Regions from separate parts of the Homo sapiens genome. Here regions 1, 2 and 4 are each linked to region 3. The links are contacts of gene promoters, found by promoter capture Hi-C in blood cells and fetal thymus (Javierre and others, 2016). All regions are on one chromosome and are shown on one strand. The core of a region is centred on a gene start or on the middle of the fragment in contact, and the rest is flanking DNA. Distances in the headings are between cores, read along the strand shown. Region 1 holds the start of LINC01222 (long intergenic non-protein coding RNA 1222). Region 2 overlaps MIR181A1HG (MIR181A1 host gene). Region 3 holds the start of PTPRC (protein tyrosine phosphatase receptor type C). Region 4 overlaps NEK7 (NIMA related kinase 7).

Region 1 (4,698 bases), core at 356-2,855, 380 kb after region 3:
ACTTTGCATCTCTTAGTTAGATGATTCTCTCCTTTGAGCTACTACTCTACTCGCTTTGTTGTTTTTAACTACCTTTAGGATCACTCTTCCTTTTTCTTCTCTCTCAAGTTCTTCCAACTCTGCTTCCTCATCCCATCTTTGAGATATAGATACTTTATAAAGATTTGCTCATAGTCTTTGTTTTTTCTCTAACCACACTCACTTCCTTGGTAATTTTGCTCAGTCTTATACTCTCAATTGTCACCTTTACCTAGTGACTTCCAAGAATCCACCTGTCTCCTCCTGACTGCCTGTGGGTTCTAGTGTGCATTGTACATCTTCAGCAACAGTTCTGAAAACCATTTAAATTTAGTATATATAAGCCAATACTTTTCTTGTAGCCCTAAAACCTACTCTTTTTCCAACATATCCTTCTGGTTATTACTAACCTCCTAATTGCCTACATTAAAAATGTCAATTATTACTATTATCTCTCTCTGATGTTTCTTTACTGTCAAGTTCTATTTATTTCCACCTATCCTATTTCTTTATCCTGATTTCCACTTCCCTTATATGATGCTCATGAAAAGTCAGTGTTTCTTTAATTTGATGGTGCTTCCAATAGAGTGAAATTTTTTTAATTACACAAAATAATGCACATCCAGTATCCAGTATTTTCCTAGACATACTACTGTTACTCTTTTTTAATATATGGTCTTTTAAAGATGGTATCTTATGTTTACAAGGTTCACCTTTCTTCCCCTTGATGAGTATCATGAGGTCTCATTTTCCACACCTGAGTGTCTCACAGACCTACCTCTCCTTCTTATAGAGACATTTCCCAAAGAACATTTTACATTACATGCGTGTATAAAGGGAAGCCTGTAATTTTGACCTGGTAAGGAATGGGTGAGTTGCTGATCACCCTTCCTTTTTGTAATTCAGTTTAAGAAACAAGCTTCATTTTAAATTCCAATTCTATAGTCATATTTTCTACAATATTCATTATTTCATTCTTTCAACAAGTTAATATATTAACTTTTATTCCTAAACCAATTATTTTTTCCTTATTCATTTTACAACTCATTTCCAGATTAAACTTTCTGAAGCCTAGTTCCATTAAGTTTCCCCTACTATTCAAAAATGTAACAATGGTTTCCTCTTGTATATAAAATATAACGTTCAACTCCAGTGTAGGGCATTCAATTCTTTCCACAACCTGAACCCAAATTTCTTTTCCAACCTGATTGTCCCACGTACATGTGTCACACCCTTCAGCTAAACCAAAACTTTCACCTTCCACCCTGTGGTGGATAGGCTCTGTGGTGGCCCCCCATCATCCCCATCTCCTGACATTTATGGCCTTGAATAGTACTTTCCCCTGAGTATGACCATGACCTGTGACTTGCTTCTAACCAATAGGATACAAGACAGGGGGAATGTGATTACATATTTATGATTATGTAGAGAAGATGGTGTGACCATCTTGTTAAAGTTTATTTTTTCCTGGCTGGATTTAAAGAACTACACTGCCATGTTGTAGGCTGCATGTTGGGTGACCATTGTGACAAGGAACTTAGGGTGGCCCCTAGGAGCTGAGGATGGTCTCCAGTTGAACATCAACAAGACACTGAAATTCTCTGTCCTTTAACTGCAAGGAACTAAATTTTGCCAACGAAAATGAATCTTTCTCCAGTTGAGTTTCAGATGAGACTGTACTTCCAGGCAAATCCTTTTTGCAATCTTGTTCACCCCAAACAGAGGACTCAGCTAAGCTCTTCCCAGATTCCAGATACACAGAAATTTTAAGGTAATAAATGTGTGTTATATTAAACTGCAAATTAGTGATAATTTCTTATTCTGCAATAGAAAACTACTACTCACCTTTTGCTTTTGCATTATGTCTGAAAAGTCTTTCTCTATATGATCATATATTTTAACTCTACCATACATTATAACTCAATGCCAATTACTCCAAGAAGTATCCTCATGTCTTGGGAAGCAATCTATCCCATCTCTCAACTCCAACATCACCTTACTAGATCTGCTTCTATGAACATACTTCTTTTACATTTTTATTATGGGTGCTTATCTTCTCTTTTAGACCATAACCTTCTAAAACGCGGAATTTTATTTGATTCATCTTTAAAAACAAGGGATCCAACACGTTGCTTTGAATATGTTAATAGCTCAATAAATACTTTAACTAAATAACATTTTACAAAATATTTGAGCCTAAATATTTCGGTGCTAGGAAGATTAAAATATATGCTAACTTTCTGTTTTATACAATGACAAGCTTAGTGGGCAATGTATCACACTAGTAAATACTGCAGAGAAATAGACTCATACTTCCAATTATTTATTTTTTCAGAACCTGCTCAAACTCCTTTGCATTGTGAAATATAAGAAGTTTTTTCTAAAGGAATGATATAAATACATAGTATTAGAAAAAATTAGAAATTAATTTTTATGTAAAAAATAATAGTTTTCTAAAGGTTTTACAAGGGCCTTACTATTAAAATGAAAGGAAAGCAGTTTAACTTTATTTCTCCATTGTCTACAATATTTGTCTTCTACTGATAATGAACATTCTATCTGCTACACTCATAACTGTTGTCTGCATTGGGAGAATGATTTTGATTAACTTACATAAGGGCATAAAATAAAAATTTAACCTTTTTTAGTTTTTCAAAAAAGTCTATAAAAATAGTAAGTGAAATGAAAGCAATCTTCTATTAACAGGAAGATAGTCTAGGGCTGAGTTTATGCTTTGTGGAGCATCCATGTTGTATGTGAAAGGTAGCTGTACTTTCATAAGAATTGCTGAATAGTAAAGAGAATTGGAATAATGTTTAATATTACATATGGTAATACCATTAAAATATAAGCAGATTTATACATGTTTTCTCCTAGGAACATGTCTTCATGTACTAGTTTTCTGTCTATATTGAGAAGTCATGATTATTATATCCTTATTCTATACTAATTAGCTCATTTCCTAATAGCAGTAGGTGCCAGTGTATCAAAGATATAAGATTGTTCTGAAAACTGCTTAGATGTAACGGAGACTCAGGACACTTTTCTAAATTTTCATTTATTCAAATATTATTTATCTATAGAACTATGGTTTTTAAAAATAACATTTTTAGATCTGTACTATATAACCCTGGTAGAACCAGTATCACACCAAATGTGTTTGATAAACACCTCTAAATTGCTAAGAGTAAGATGAAAATGATCTTTTGTGATAAGAGATTTAAAAATGGTAGTCTATTTCAAAAATATCAAAAATAAAAGAAGGAATAAAAGCTTCACAATAAATTAATGCTTTACTCTCTAATATGCTTCCTTTAAGTATAAACCATTCCATTTAGCATTCAGAAACTGCTATTGAATCAGTCTACATCCAAAACATATTCACTCACTACAATTTGTGTTGTCATTTTGGAATATGACTTTAAAGCATGAGTCATAAAGCCTGTGAAGTGCTATTGTCAAAAAAGTCATAACATACGTTATTTAAAGGAACACATTAAATTCTGCATTATTGTAAATATACTTTTCATAATGCTGTTTGCTAAAATACTTTAAAAAAATCTACAAATTTACTTTCAATAGCTTTTCATTGAATGGGAGATTTTTAAAGCATATACTCTGATTTTGTGCTTCTCTGCAAGGTAATAATTTCAACATTATCATTATCATGAGTACATTCTTTAAAATTTAAATGTCTTAAATTCAATATGCCTATAATTTTCTGTGAATCTGCACATATAAGTATCCACATGTAATTCTTATGAATATAGATTTCATCTCCTTTCCCCACCTATACCCACTTTCCTGCAGAACAGCTAGAGTAATCCATTTAAAATGAAACCCAGATTATGCCATTCTGCTACTTAAAACACTCCAATATCTCTCCATAACACTTAGGATAAACCAAATTACTTGGCTGCTCAACACCCTACTTGATTGGTCCCTGCCTCAGCCTCTCTAATGTCAATGCCTATCATTCTTCCTTAGTTCCTATCATATCACACCCTGAACTTCCTTAGTTCAGGGTGTGATAGCTATACTGGTAACATTCTGGCCCTTGAATGTCCTTGAATATCTGAAGATTTACCTCTGCATTATGGTCACAGCTGCTCCCCCTTTATCTTCCTATGCTTATTTCCTTCTTGACACGTAAATCTTAGCTTAAATGTCACCATCTCAGAGAAGTCTTTGTAGGTCACCAACCCAAAAGTAGCTGCCATCTTCCAAGCATTGCCCATAATGTTACCCCTGCTTAATTTCCATCTGAGCTGTCATCCTTTGTGTATGTAGGTGTATATATATATTTATTTTGGTTTGATGTCAGCCACACCCAACCAAAAGTAAGCGGCATAAACCTAGTGCCTGGCCCTTAGTAGATGTTTTGAAGGGATGAGTGGAACAGTAAGATACAGAGGCCTTGCTGTAGCTTACCTCCTAACTCTTAAGTTTTGGCTTTTTCTCTCATTTGCTATGTGACTTTAGGCAATTACTCAAACTCTCTAAGCCTATTTCCTCATCGGTAGAAATAAAATTGTCATACCTATTTCATGAGGATTTTTGAATAATAATGAGATACTACGTATTCAATATTTAACTTGTTGATTGATACACAGAAGTCAAAAATTCTTAGCTATTTAAATGTTGTATATATGTGTGTGTATACATATGTACACATATATG
Region 2 (4,763 bases), core at 127-2,626, 290 kb after region 3:
TTTAACCAATAAAGTGCTTACTAGACAGTTGAAACTGTGTAAGCGAATAATAACTTAAAAGAATTACTTGTGATAAAATGATAGAAAAAGCCAACTCAAATAATTTTCATTGAAGACAAATCTTGCAGCTATATTAATATTAATAAAAATTAAATGCTTTTGATTAGTCTAGATTGGCTTGTAATGGTAAAACACAAAGACAAAACTGAGGCAGTGAGCCTCACAATGCCTCTACTGATTTCTCTACTGGCCCTTCCTCTGCACATGGTCAATTAGAATTGAAAATCCTGTGCTGATTTCATTCGCTGGAATTTTTAAGCAGGTCAGGAAGAAAGATGTTATTGAAAGGAAAAGTCTCATCTAAATAAGAAAGGAGCACGTGGCCATCTGGTCTTAGCTATACATATAAAAAGTTATTTCAGCTGAACTGCAGTCTTGATGTTTAAAAAGATGTGCCAGAAATCAAACCAAAATCTGTTTACGGTAAAATATCCCAAATGTTTCTTTTTAAACTTTCAAATATGCAATACACAGTTCATTTCCTATCTGTGATTCATGAGCCCATTTGACCCCAGCGCCTCACTGAGCTTGACTGAGTTTCACTCAGTAGAACATTCAATCATTTTTAGAACACTTTTCCTTCATAGAGTGTCAACAAGACAGTGGATCTTTTGAAAATTGTGAAAATAACTTTGATAGTTTTCACTCAAATTAATTTTGAGTATTGTCGTCATGTAGGATTGCAAGAATAAAATTTGAAACATAAAGCAGCCAAACCAGTTTCCCTTGTTTTCTCATCGCAACTTGAGGTTCCTGTGCATTCTCTGCACAGTGCTCAGGTATCTACTCACAATAATTTCAGGCCCTATGCCTAAAGGCTAAGTTAAAAAAAATTCTCTTTTCATGAAGAGAAATTTTAAGTGTTGAGTCTTCTTTTGCAAATCATTTTCATGGTAGTAAGAAACAGAGATGGTTTTAAAAATCACATTTTATACTGTTTGTCAAATTAGAGTCATATCTTTTGATATTCTTCTTTGACATGAGGTATTTGTGGTAATTATAACATCAATACATTAATTCATCCAATATCTGATAATGCCCTTCTGGTAGTATAGACATAGCTAGTTGATATCGCAATCTGAATTTTATTGTATTGAAGTACATTAGTAGTCTTCAAGAACTCTTATTATAAAGTGACAACAATTATTTGGGGTCAGAAGACTATATTCAAATACATTATATATATATATACATATATATATATACTAAATATGCTACATGCATGTAAGAGACATACATGATCATAATATCAGCACATGCTAAACAACGATGTAGATTTAAGCTAAGTCTTCAGATAAATACTTGGATTAAAATATTCTAATATATGAAACAAAAGCCTCTTGACATATCTTTGACATAAAATGCCCACTGGTTGTTTTTGTATATCTACTATGTTTGTTCTGCCATTTCAAATAAATCATTGCCATTGTGTAAGAAGAATAAACTGTACTATAGTAAATTGTTCTTTCTCCGTTATGCTCTGAAAAACCATTTGTTCTTGAATTGGCGTTACGTAGTTCAACTATTTCAATCAAGTCCATTATCTTCTTGTCTTTGAAAGATGCCTTTTCAGTAACCTGTACCCAATGGGCAATGTCATGTATTGTTTTTTGAAAGTAGGTAAAATTTAAACACAACTATTTGCCCATTTTAATCTTTGATAAGGAAATTATATAATTAATCATCAATCTTCCACTATATGTTGGAAGAACTGTTTATGTCAAAATTACAGAGTTAGGCCAAGAATTTCTTAACGAAGTTATTTATTAGTTCATAGTGGAGTCTTACCCTATAGACTGTCATCTAACTTGTGTAGCTTGTTTTCTCTAAGTACAAAATGTGTCAATTCTTTAGCTACATACTTTTCTTAACAATAGTAACATGAAAGCAGAAAAAGAACAAAACATTTTTTCATTTGTTTTAAAACAGTCACAAAATACATTGGCAAAATGAATCTTATTAATTTGTTGACATATACGTAGTGCTGTTTATACATATATGCTTTGAAATTCCTTTCAGATTAATTGCTTTTTAGTACGCAAGAATGAAGAAGTATTAAGAGCAAATTCCAAAATTTTAAAACTCATGTATCAGATACGTGGTATGTAAAAACTGGTAAGTATAGCAGTCATTCTATTCTAATGAAGATTAATTTAAATTACACATCAAAACTTGGTAGTTAAGGGGTAGAATGTATACAGAGTTGTTCTATATCTACCTCTCAAATCTGGCAATATGTTTTGGTAAAAGTATTAAACTTTATTGGAGTGAAATAAAATAATGTACTGAAATGTGTGCATTAATAAAAATCTGAGCACATGTTTGGTGAGTAACTATCCAGTATAAGACCCATAAAACAGACTTGAAAATAAATACAAACCCTGAACTAGCTCACACGAAAGTTAATTCAACTACTATCTAATCCATAGATATACCCTTATAAAAGCACATGAGAGAGCATTACTTCTAAATCATTGGTACAAAACTGTTCTCTCCTAAAGAAATAAGTTAAAAGTAAAAAGGATTTAATTGTTACAAAATGTTAAGTGGCGAATAAAAAACACCAAGTCATAATAAATTGAAGTATTGTAGCATTTTTATCCAACTTGATTTCAAAATGCTCACCATTTCTACATCCTATTTATATCATTGAAATTCAGCCACCTTTCAAATGTTCAAACAGCATATTAATAAGGCTTCCTAGAACCAGGAAACTCTGACTACATCTATCTTGATAAACATACCCATCCTGCCCCATAAACACATCTTCAAAAGAAAGATAGCTGCGAATAAAATAGTCCTTTCCTGTGGGTGTCGGTTAACCCCACGAGCACGTGAACTTCCTATGGGCACACACCCAACATACATTAGCGATTAGGTGATTGAAAATGTTGCCCACAAAGGCAAAATTTTATATATGATGACATCACCAGCTAACCTGGATTTCTCTGTGATATAATGATATAATTTCCTGGTTGAGTGTGTGCATCTTGAGATAGAGAAAGAGAAAAGAGAGCGAGTATGTGTGTATGTATGTGTGTGTGTGAGGAGAGAGAGAGAGAAAGATGCTTAAAGAACAGCATCATCAGAAATGGTATATAACCTTCTGCAAGGTTTGCAAGAATCTTTCGACAGACCTTTGACTTGTTCCAGATTTCATGCAGCATAAGTTCATTCAAACATGCATTCCCCACACAAACAAATTACATTATGTTTAGTTAGCACACTATTAGTTCCTAAAATATTCTGATAAGATCTGTTGAGATGAGATTTCTACACCAAATGAGGCATGTGCATCTGTATGATGTGGTGCGGGAGTTGCAAAGTCCCTTGAGACCTGCCTTTGAATGGGTAAGACGTCTTGGTTTCAAAGGTAATGAAAGGGTTAAAAATTGAGGCTGTCTAGGGTAAGAGAAAGGGGATATTGTTGTCTTTAATCTTTCCGCAGTATGTGTAAGACTTCCATCCCGGATCTGCACATAGCAGTGGAATAGGCTCGGCATGCATTGCGTGCAAGCTCCTTGATTGTAGAAGGGGAAAAAAATCTGGCTGGAGTCCAGACAGGCTGGAGCTCTGTTGATCATTATGTCTAGCCTTCAGGTGTCTCAGCACACAGTGGGCGGCGGTGGGGGAGGTGTAGATAACATGAGAGCAGACAAAGAAAAAAAATGGTGTATTTTTATAAGATTATGTGAAAATTTGTATTTATTTTCAAGCCCTCCTTAAGAAAATGAATCCTAACGTCTTGGACTTTTATAATTAGAACACAGGCTCTGCTCTGGCAGCTCTCTTTAAGCCATAATTAGTTATGTCTGGAGCCTTTGAATAATTCCTTTCAATAATTGATGGAGTTAATATTCTCTTTTAAAAATGAGGAGGACAATGTTTTTCACAAACTCTTTTTGTTGGAGGCTTTGTCATTCAAAATCTTCATCAGTCATAATCACACTGGTGTGATTTGCCTTTTAATTTCTTATAAGACTTAGCTTATAACTTTTTAAGGATGTGGATAATTCTAAAAGTAAAGGCATAATGTATTGCTAGATTACTGTAGCTGAATATAAAAAGAAAGCAGTAATGCAGGAACATTCTATCCATTTGTTTCCAATTATTTTATAAATTTAAAAACTGCATTGTATGTTGCTTCTGTTTGAACTCCATCAAAAAACCTCACTATGAATGTAAGGAACTTAGATGCTAATCATATCTTTTGCTTGCTAGAAAGAAGAAATGCCAAATTATTTTATTCTTCAAGCATTCTTCTATAAAGAAGCTTCCGCATGCTTCCTCCCCACCCCCACATCCTCACTCCACCCTATTAGGAATTTCAAAAAAAAAAAAAATCTTTATACATGGAAGGCTAGATCCTAAGACAGAAAGCTGTCTTTTCCTTCTGTCTTTACACTGGCCACTTTCAGTCGCCTTCACTTCTGCTGGGACTTTATTTCACATTGTGTGGACTACAACACCGAAACCAGTTCAGTCTCTATCCTTATTATAAAATTAAAAGTGGTGGTTAAAAAAACATATAAAGCCCTGGCTTGAAGCCATTGTTCAGAATTTAAGAGCTATTTGCCCCCAAGTGTCTTTGCAGTCTTTCATAGCTAATTATAATAACTGTCAGATGTCTGGAAAGTCTATGGTGCCCTTGTCAGTGGAGTCAGCAAAGTTTGTCTTTTATTTTTCTTGGGGACAGAGCAAAT
Region 3 (4,766 bases), core at 951-3,450:
CACTGTCTCCATTCTGAGCCATCAGAATTGTATATACATTCATCTGCTGATGTCTCTGTATTTCAAGCTGTATGTCTTTACACCTTTATAATACACAGTACAGATTTTGCTGCTTAAAATTCTAGTATTTCCTATAGACACTAAACTCAATTTTAACACAATGAATATGTTAAAACATTATATATGTGTTGGATTAACACATATAATGCAACTCATTTGTTGCTAATCTATCTTGGATTCCTTGGGTAGAATCTGTCTTCTCACCTGTCTGAAATGGAATTGAATCTCCTAACTTCTTACTATTTTTTTAAAGCCACAAATCCCTTTTAAAATGTCCGTTTAAGGCTGCTAAACTCACATTGTTATAGAGTATATTTTATATACTTTTCTTCCTTTTAAAAGATCATATACACTTTTCTCCTGGCCTCTAATTTTGCCAAATATTCTGCCATAACAGCAAGCTCACAGAACACAAGTATTTGCTTAAAGATATTTAAAGCAAATCCCCAAAGAGTTTTCTGTTGCAAATGTATTTTAAGACATAGGCTGAGGAGCTGAGTATTCAAATCCATGAGTTCTGACACTGATGTTTTATTAGGCCTACCCACATGAAAATTAGTGCTTACTTGCACAGTTATCTTATTTAAAAATACATTTGCAAAAAGAGAATAATTTCATTTTCACTGATTCAAAGGTCTATCTTTTCGAGTATTATAAACTTACATAGTACAAAAAGATTGGTAAAAGGGATGAGAAAAATAAAGGGCAATAGTAAGGTGAGTAAGGAAAGCAAAATTAAACTTGGAGACTTGGGTTCTAAATATAGCTTGTCTACATCCTAGCTGCAAGATCTTAGGCAACTCAACTAACCTCTCTGAACATCACAGATAAAATGGGGAATAATAACATTATCTAGCTCAAGGGTATCGTACAAATTATACAATATATGTAAAGTGCAAAGCATAGTTCCTGCACATAGTAAGTGCTCCATAAGTTAAATATAATAATAATCATAGTAAAATAATATTCTTAACTACAATCTTATTAAAAGGTTATTACCTAGAGTTTAAGCTGTGGGGTTATTTCCATTTGCACAAAGTGTGATAGAAATTTGGCTCTGTAGTTCCTAGCAGCCAATGTAAGAGTAAAACAAAAAAGTTTGTAAGTATCAAAAGATTTATTTACTTAAATATAAGAACCCTACAATAATGCTTCCAAACTAGGGTTTGCAGAATTACCACAAGGGCTCTGTCTGTCTAAAAGTCCCCCAAGCATTATCTATTGTTCAAATAAATGAGTTGCACATGTGTGTACTTTTATTTTTAAAGGCATATAGATATTGTATTAATAAAACCAATTCATCTAATTGTATTGTTGAATTTATACTTTTTGCCAGTAAGCATTTTCCTAATAGATGGACTTAACTAAGAACATCAGAATGGTGAAGAGCATTGTGTTAATACAATTCATTGTCTTATTTGTTAAAAAAGTTGAAAAAGTATTGCTGAGAAAAAGGAAACAAGTTAACTTTTGTTAAAGGTATCTCTTGGTTTTCACTGTCCTTTCCCTCATCAGTAGCGCCAAGAACATCTTAAGTCACAGAAACATTAGTTTTTGGAAGCAGGGTTTGCTGTAACTATAGTAGAAATGACATTCTGATTCCACTCCTAGCTTCACAAGGATATCTGTGAAAGATTTGGGGCAAAACTGTTAAGCTGTCTGAAAGTGCTTTTGCATAAGAAATGGGTTTTACTGCTAAAACTGTCATATTGCTGAGTTTTGAATGCCCTAATGGTAAATGATACTGGGTTGCCAAAAATAACCAGATTAGTAGTTTTTTCATTCATTTGGCCGTCTCAGTAAGTCAAATATTGATACTTTCTACTAAGTCATCTTGCCAACACCCATTTTGTTATACTTATGCTGAATCTGTTTGTCATCTCTTAAGTAAGAAAATTATTGATTATTTTGTGGGGATTTAATTTAAAAAAAATGGTAATGGATACTGTAAAGGAGCATTATTTGGATGGTTTAAAAACATCTTCCTTGATGGGAAAATCTTTTAAAAGGCTTTCTAACTTGGTGTAATTACTTGAATTAAGGAAGTGCAATGCCATTCTACTGACTTAGAACAACTTTTTTGACTTCCTGCAAAGAGGACCCTTACAGTATTTTTGGAGAAGTTAGTAAAACCGAATCTGACATCATCACCTAGCAGTTCATGCAGCTAGCAAGTGGTTTGTTCTTAGGGTAACAGAGGAGGAAATTGTTCCTCGTCTGATAAGACAACAGTGGAGAGTATGCATTTATTTATTTACTTTTACATTTTTGATTCGTTTTTACAGAGAAAAACTTCTACAGAGATAACAATTATTTTGCTTTTCAGAAGGACGCATGCTGTTTCTTAGGGACACGGCTGACTTCCAGATATGACCATGTATTTGTGGCTTAAACTCTTGGCATTTGGCTTTGCCTTTCTGGACACAGAAGTATTTGTGACAGGTAAGTACAAGGATATTAATATTTTTTAAATTATTTTTTCTCTTTTGGAGGAATGTTTGAAATAGACATAAAAATAATTTAAATGTGTTGGTAACTGGAAGTGAGAAGCCTGCTGTAAACCATCAAGATTGTTGTCTCAGGGAGACATAGCTAGTTGTGTGACAGAATACATTGTTTCTGTTTACAAAGACATAAATGTTTCGGGACAAAAAATACAATTTTAAAAGGAAAGCAATGTCTATCTGTATCTTTATTTACAACTGTTCAAAGATATTACAAAAGCAACATTATTACTTAACTTCCAAAGTGACAATAACACACATTTATAAAAGCCTGAGAATTTTTTAATGATAAAATAAGTGAGTTTTTATTCTTTTAACAAATTTGATCTTTTAAAAAGTCATAAAACAGCTTTGGTTGTATGTAAGCCACTCCCTCTTTTCAGACCTGAAGTTTGCTTCCTCAAATTTTGAATTTAATTGACATATTTTATTGAATACTTGGGTATATAATAGTTCAAAAATATATTGAGATATTTAGTAAAATATTAACTTTCTGCAATTTTTATCACAGAATGTATTTTAAATCAAGTTTTTAGTTTCTTGTTAATAGTTTTAATACATTTTTGCTTTAGAAATTCTTGTGGAGCCACCGCCCTTCCTGGGTGGTGGGTAAATATTACAGCCTTGATGAGATAGAAATATTTAAACTCTTAAAAATCATGCAAATGCTGTATTCAGTAGGAAAATGCAACTAGTTGGACTTCCAGTGCCTATTAAAGTTTGAAATCTTTGCACATTTATGGTCTATTCAATGGATAGTTCTTGAGCGGCGTCAATATGAATCATGAGTACATTTCAATAGATTATAGAATGTAACTAATAATTAATATTTAATATTTCTCTTTATGATGTAGTATCTAAAAGGACATTGAAAATAAAATTTTTGTAGAAATTCCAAAAAGTATAAAAAGTATTTTAAAACAACTTGCTTATTACAATTCACTTTGAAGTCTTTTTTTGACTTTTACCGTTCTTCTTTCCTCTGAAAGTCAGGGAAGTAGCTACCTCTTGAGCATGTTACATTGACAATTTCTATTTGGAGAGGAAAGAAAGAGGAAAGAAAAACAACATAAGATTTTTGTTGTTGTTGTTGTGGCTGTTTTGCTTTTTATTGCAAAGGTGAATTTTTTAAAAATCTATATATTTGCAGCATTTGTCTTAGTACAGAAAATGTTTATCAAGTTACCATCCCTTTAAAGCTTATGATAATAAAAAGTAAATTATAAAGAATAATAATCTCAATGAAGTGATATATGTATATTATCACAAATCAGAACAGATTTTCATTTAAAATTCCCACTCAGGAAATGTCGAAAAGCATTTTTAAATGAGCATAAAGAAATACTGAGACATTTTGTAAGCCAGAATATTTTTCTTCTCTTCATATTCATTTAACTTCTATTATTTTCTTCAGGTCTAGCTCCATTGCTTTTTATTCCAGGCAAACTTCCCAACCTCCTGAATAGACCAAATATCCTATTATATGCTTAAATCAGAGTGTGAAATATTTCCTTTGTGAATAAAAATTCAACTCATTCTATTACAGGATGTTTTTTTAACCATAAGACACATCTTTGAATTTATAATTGAAATAATATGATGGGGTCTAGAAACCTTTATATCAACTTTGCTGAATGATTTATACCATAGCAAATAAATGGATATACATAAATTTATTTTGAAAACTCAACTTTATCTTCAGTTGCTCACATAAATATTGAGAGCAAACATTTTTCTAAAAGACATTTGTAGACTCCCTGAGATATATGCTTATTTGTGGAAAAACATATACAGATATAATCATTTGTATCTGCAAATATTGTTTATAATCCTTTCAAGTTGCAAGAAACATTTTGTGATTTAATGTATAATTTGGAAAATTCTTAATGCTTTAAATTATTTATTTTTCTTTTTTAGCAACAAATGAGTTGGATTCTATGTTTCATTTTAACGTGTTAAAATTAGTTTAGTGCCTACAGGAAATAATAAACTTTTGGGGAACAAAATTTATATTGTATGCTGTAAAGGCATAAAGAAATAGAGCCAAATGTAGAGAGCCATCAATGGTAACTCTATGCATAATTCAAATATTTTATTTAATATCTAAAATGCACACACGGACAAGGCCAAAGTTAATCTTTGCCACGGCAACAACCAGGCAGGGTTCAGTTTTACTCAAGACTTCCTAATCCTCTTGCTCTG
Region 4 (4,515 bases), core at 1,462-3,961, 460 kb before region 3:
ATCTTCATGTGTGCCGAAGGTATAAAAATGAAGAGCAAATAGATTCAGCCCTTGAGTAGTAGTTGCTAATACATAGGTAATGGGTAGGGCCTAAGGTGGACAGACAACTGATTCATTTAAATACATGAGACAAATGCTTAAAATACGTATTTTAAAAAAGGCTACCTGAGTACCAAGCAAGGTTGACCAGGCTGACTAGCTGGGTTGAGTATTTCAGTATGATGCCATTGTCTGTGTCAGAGGCACATAGGTATTAAATAACTTGGCATTTGGAGGAAGTATAAGTGGTTCACATTAAGGCCAGAGTATGGTACTTATGTGGGGGAAAGTAGCTGGCAAGTAAGGAGTGAGGTTGAGGAGATTATGTTTTATTCATTAAAGAGTTTTAAGCAGGCTTATGACATAGATTTTCATCTTAGATTTATCATATATATATATATATAATGGGTATGTAGAATAAGAATTTCATTACTAACATCAGGAAGAGCAGTTAGTAGATTTTAATAGTAGCAAGGATCATGAGGGTCTGGGATAAACAGAGTGATGATGTTTGTGAGGCAGAATTAGTAGGAGTTGAGGACTTACGTAGAGGTAAGGGAGTAAAAGTTTCTGGTATGACCTAGGGACCGTAGGGGATGACGGATAACAATGTAGGGGGTGACTGGATGAAAATGCCATTCACTAAGAAAGGAAATACAGAGTAGAAACAGTTTAGAGTGTTCAAGATTTTAGACATGTTAGGTTTAGGATATTAGGCAGAAAGATGCAATATAATTGGAAATGAGATTCTGGAGCTACAGGTTTATAAATCGTCAGTATGTAGGAGGCAGGTTATGTCCAGCTGAAAATGTGTGATTATTGATTTAAATAACCAAGGGACTTACCATTAAAGGAAACTTAAACAAGAGAATCAGCAGACTTGTTTATTGATCACAGAGCAAAAGACTCATTTTGTGTAGAAACGATAAAAGTAGATAAAATAATTTCCTTATTATGCTCTTTATGTAGTGATTCACATTGCTAGCTTGATTTACTTCAAGCAAGTACTATATTAAGTAGTAGTAGGTAAACACACAGTTCTGAACCAATAATTGATGAAAGTAAATTACTGTTCTTCAGCCAAGAATTGGAAGGGATCAAAGTGTTCTCTTCAGTATCACAAAATGCCAGAAGTAATGGAACAATTACTTCAGAGACCTAACAAAATCAAAGCAGAGGATTGTGGCTAAAAAAGGGCATACACAGCCAAATTATTGTTCATGTATGATGGCAATAGAATTACTTTTTTTATTTTCAACGTTCAGAGACAATGTATCACATATGAGCTCTTCAAAAATTATTTGAAAATGTACTATTAAGAGTTTGGGAAAGGGACATGTTTGTACAAAATCATTGAGAAAAAGCATTGAAATGCTTTTTTTAAATGTAGAAGCAAGACTAAATACTTGTTTTGCAAGATGGGAAATAGTACAAAATGTCAGAATAACTTAAAAAGGGTATGGTTATAAAACTTATAATCTGAGAACTGGGAATGAAGTGTTGGGGGAAAGGGAAGAGTGATGGCATGATCAGTTCCTCAGCTAACCTCGGGTTGTGTGCCAGAAGAAGGATTTCAGTTTTACTTTGATAATGAACAAAAAGTCTGGTTAAAGGAGGCCTTTAAATAACTTGGAATCACCATTAGTGGAATTAAGATAAGAAAAGATATGTTTGTTTTCTAAATGGCTAGACAAAATCAAGCAAGCAAACATCGTCCATGTGGCAAGAGATGAAAAAAAATAGCACAGAAACATAAGAATTAAGAATATAAAAGACAAGTGTCAACAAAACAATTTGTATACAGTATATTAAATTTCCCTTTAAAAGGACTCAGATTAAAGAGAGATCCTCAACTATGTGCTGCTTTCAAAAGATATTCTTAGAACGAATCAACCTAGAAAGGTTAAAAATAAAAAGGTAGCCAAGATTTATAAGGAAAATACATCAGAAAACACAGAGGAGTAGCAATATAAATTTTAAAGTAGAGTTTAATGAAGAAAATCACTAAATAAGAGAAAGAACAACTTTATAAATCGACTCAAGCCCTAATAACTAATAGACTAATGACTATGGAAGAATTAAAGTAATATGAGCTGCCTTCCCACTTAGACTTATAGTCCTGTTTTTAACGTTTTTTACTTTTAAATCGAAATGAATAGGAATCTTTCAGTTCATGCTCTTGAGTTACTATATTAATATCAAAGCCTGCAAAAATTTGGCCCAAAGGATGATATGTTGGTCGAATATTGACCAGACTGTGTTCAACAGATTACCAGACTTTTCCAAGATAATAGAAATTCTGTAGGAGAATTTTGTGGCTAGACAAGTTTGGAAAAATCTGCATCGGGTACTCTTTTGGGGTTTACAGTGCACTTTAGTGTAATTGGATCCCTGAGAAGTCTTATAGCTAAGAAACCAACTTGACTTTATTTTGCCCAGTATTTTGCAGATTCATTTGTTCATGGACCCTCTCCCTGCCATTTTTTGTTGTTGTTGTTGTTGTTGTTGTTGTCATGGAATACAGATTAACAACTCCTGGAATTCTAGTGTTTTAAAGAGCAGAGTTTGAAGAGCACTTATGGTTGTAGATACACAAAGCTTCAATAAAATTAAAACTAATGGTACAGTTAAAGAGTCATCAGTCATGACCGATAAAGGTTTATCTGAGCATATAAAGATAATATAATGGAAGAGATCTAGCTATTTGATTCATTATCTCATTTGGTTCAGTAAGAAAATTTGTGAGATAAGCTTAGTAGAATAGAAAAGCATTTGATACCATTTGATACCCCCCCCCTTTTTTTTTTAAGGAAAAGCCTCTTAGAAAATTGAGACTGTCATTTGATATGGGATATGGTCAATATAAAAACATACTGTAATTTCATATGTTTGTCCTTATTTCTTCTCAACTGCTATAATTTAAACTCATTGAGTATAGGAAATATATTAATCTTTACATTTTCTGTTGCCAATTCTAATATAAGGCCTTGCATTTTTAGGCATTCTATATACTATAGTGATTTCTTAAATGAAAACATTATTTGGAAACCTATCCTCATGTAGTTTTCAAGTTACAGTGGATTTTAGGAAATTTGTGTGTTGTGTGTGTAAAACATTTTTTAAAAATGTAGAACATGCATGGCTTTTCAAAACTTAAATAGACATTCTTCATTATGGGCCTTTATGTTTGCTTTATTTTTTTATCCAGTAAGCCCTGAATTCTTAAGATGAATTTAAATTTGGTCTAACAGTTAAGTGACAGAGAATTCATACAGATTCTTGAACAGTAAGGTGGTATAATACTCTAAAAAAAGGATTATTTTTGGTGTACAGCAAGATGCATGAGGATGGCTCCAACAGAATAGAAGTGTTCATGTAGGAAAATCAAGGGACTTTAGGACCTGAGGCTGGGACAGACTCTCCAGGATGTGGTTGGATTTTGGGCTAAACAGTCTTTCTGTGGTCTTGAGGACTGCCTTTATAGTCTGTGAAACCCTATCCTTCAATTGTGGCTTTACAGAGTTTAAGAAAATTTTGTTCGTATGCAGATTTCTGCAGTCTTCCTGTTGCCAGGAAGAACCTACAGTTACACAGGAGTGTGTGTGTGTGTGTATGTATGTGTGTGTGTGTGTATGTGTGCAGACACGTGTGTGTAAACACACAAAGTAGACTGAACTTAAACCTGATTTATAGGAGTCAGGAAACCTGAGTTTCTTTGCTTTCTCCTTGTGTAATTTTGGTTAAGTTGTGTAACTTCTTTCTTTGGAGTTTCTTGTCTGTAATCTGGAAATTATTTCCCACTCACTCCACTGTGATGTTTTGAGAAGATATCTGTGGAAACTTTTTGAAAAGTACAAAATGATAAGTGTAAAATGTCAATAAAGCATATTGATGCTTATTTTGCTAGAAGAGTACATATAAACATAAAATTTAGAAACCTTAAAAATCACGGCCAGAGAGAATCATGATTTCTACACCTCCCTTTTTTTTTTTGGTGGGGGGGTGCTTCCAGTTAAAAGTAAGCATTCAGTTTGTACTAATATTTAAAAGCCTTTGCATCATAGAGAAAATTAATCAATAACGAAGTATCATAATTTAGAATCATTATTGTTACTAACATTTTATTCCTTATTCTAAAGTAATTTATTCAGGATGTGTGCTGAGACCTGTTGTTTTAACTGTATAGCTAGATGAAAATATGAGAGAAGAGGTTTGGATGAGGTTTCTTTCCTTTGTAACAGTTTGCTTGAGGAATGGGCAGGCTTTTCCTCACTTGACAGATGGTATAGGAAGGGCATTGAGAAGCTTGCATTTGCTTGGTGGTGATAGAGACAGGGCTAGAATTCATAATTTTTGTTGTTGTTATTTAACACATTTTCCCCCTTTGGGTACAACATTTTCTTGCTGATAATTTTGACCTTGTACTAATTTTTGATAATTATCATAATCTTTTAGGGAGGTAGTCCAATGATGTGT

Evidence for each region. The method cuts DNA at HindIII sites, captures the fragments that hold promoters and counts their contacts. A CHiCAGO score of 5 or more calls a contact.
Region 1: a contact is called between a fragment that was not itself captured here and the fragment with the promoter of PTPRC in region 3, in 1 of 17 cell types (fetal thymus). The highest score is 7.0, in fetal thymus.
Region 2: a fragment that was not itself captured here is called in contact with the fragment with the promoter of PTPRC in region 3 in 1 of 17 cell types (fetal thymus); the score reaches 7.0 in fetal thymus.
Region 4: a contact is called between a fragment that was not itself captured here and the fragment with the promoter of PTPRC in region 3, in 1 of 17 cell types (total CD4 T cells). The highest score is 9.1, in total CD4 T cells.

What each region holds. Positions count from the first base shown.
Region 1 is chr1:199,014,677-199,019,374 of GRCh38, forward strand. LINC01222 (long intergenic non-protein coding RNA 1222) reads right to left here and starts at 4,288. Exons shown (of 3, transcript NR_110525.1): 1 at 4,106-4,288. LINC01221 (long intergenic non-protein coding RNA 1221) reads left to right here and starts at 1,457. Exons shown (of 3, transcript NR_126351.1): 1 at 1,457-1,789. The HindIII fragment of the contact is 1,341 bases long and covers 936-2,276 here.
Region 2 is chr1:198,932,135-198,936,897 of GRCh38, forward strand. The region is part of intron 1 of MIR181A1HG (MIR181A1 host gene); the gene reads right to left. Among named protein-coding and RNA genes, the nearest start is that of MIR181A1HG, 2.9 kb to the right of the region's middle. The HindIII fragment of the contact is 5,909 bases long and covers 1-4,331 here.
Region 3 is chr1:198,636,840-198,641,605 of GRCh38, forward strand. It overlaps PTPRC (protein tyrosine phosphatase receptor type C), which reads left to right and starts at 2,201. Exons shown (of 33, transcript NM_002838.5): 1 at 2,201-2,298; 2 at 2,387-2,502. The coding sequence starts at 2,430. The HindIII fragment of the contact is 4,281 bases long and covers 1-3,761 here.
Region 4 is chr1:198,176,164-198,180,678 of GRCh38, forward strand. The region is part of intron 1 of NEK7 (NIMA related kinase 7); the gene reads left to right. Among named protein-coding and RNA genes, the nearest start is that of NEK7, 21 kb to the left of the region's middle. The HindIII fragment of the contact is 153 bases long and covers 2,636-2,788 here.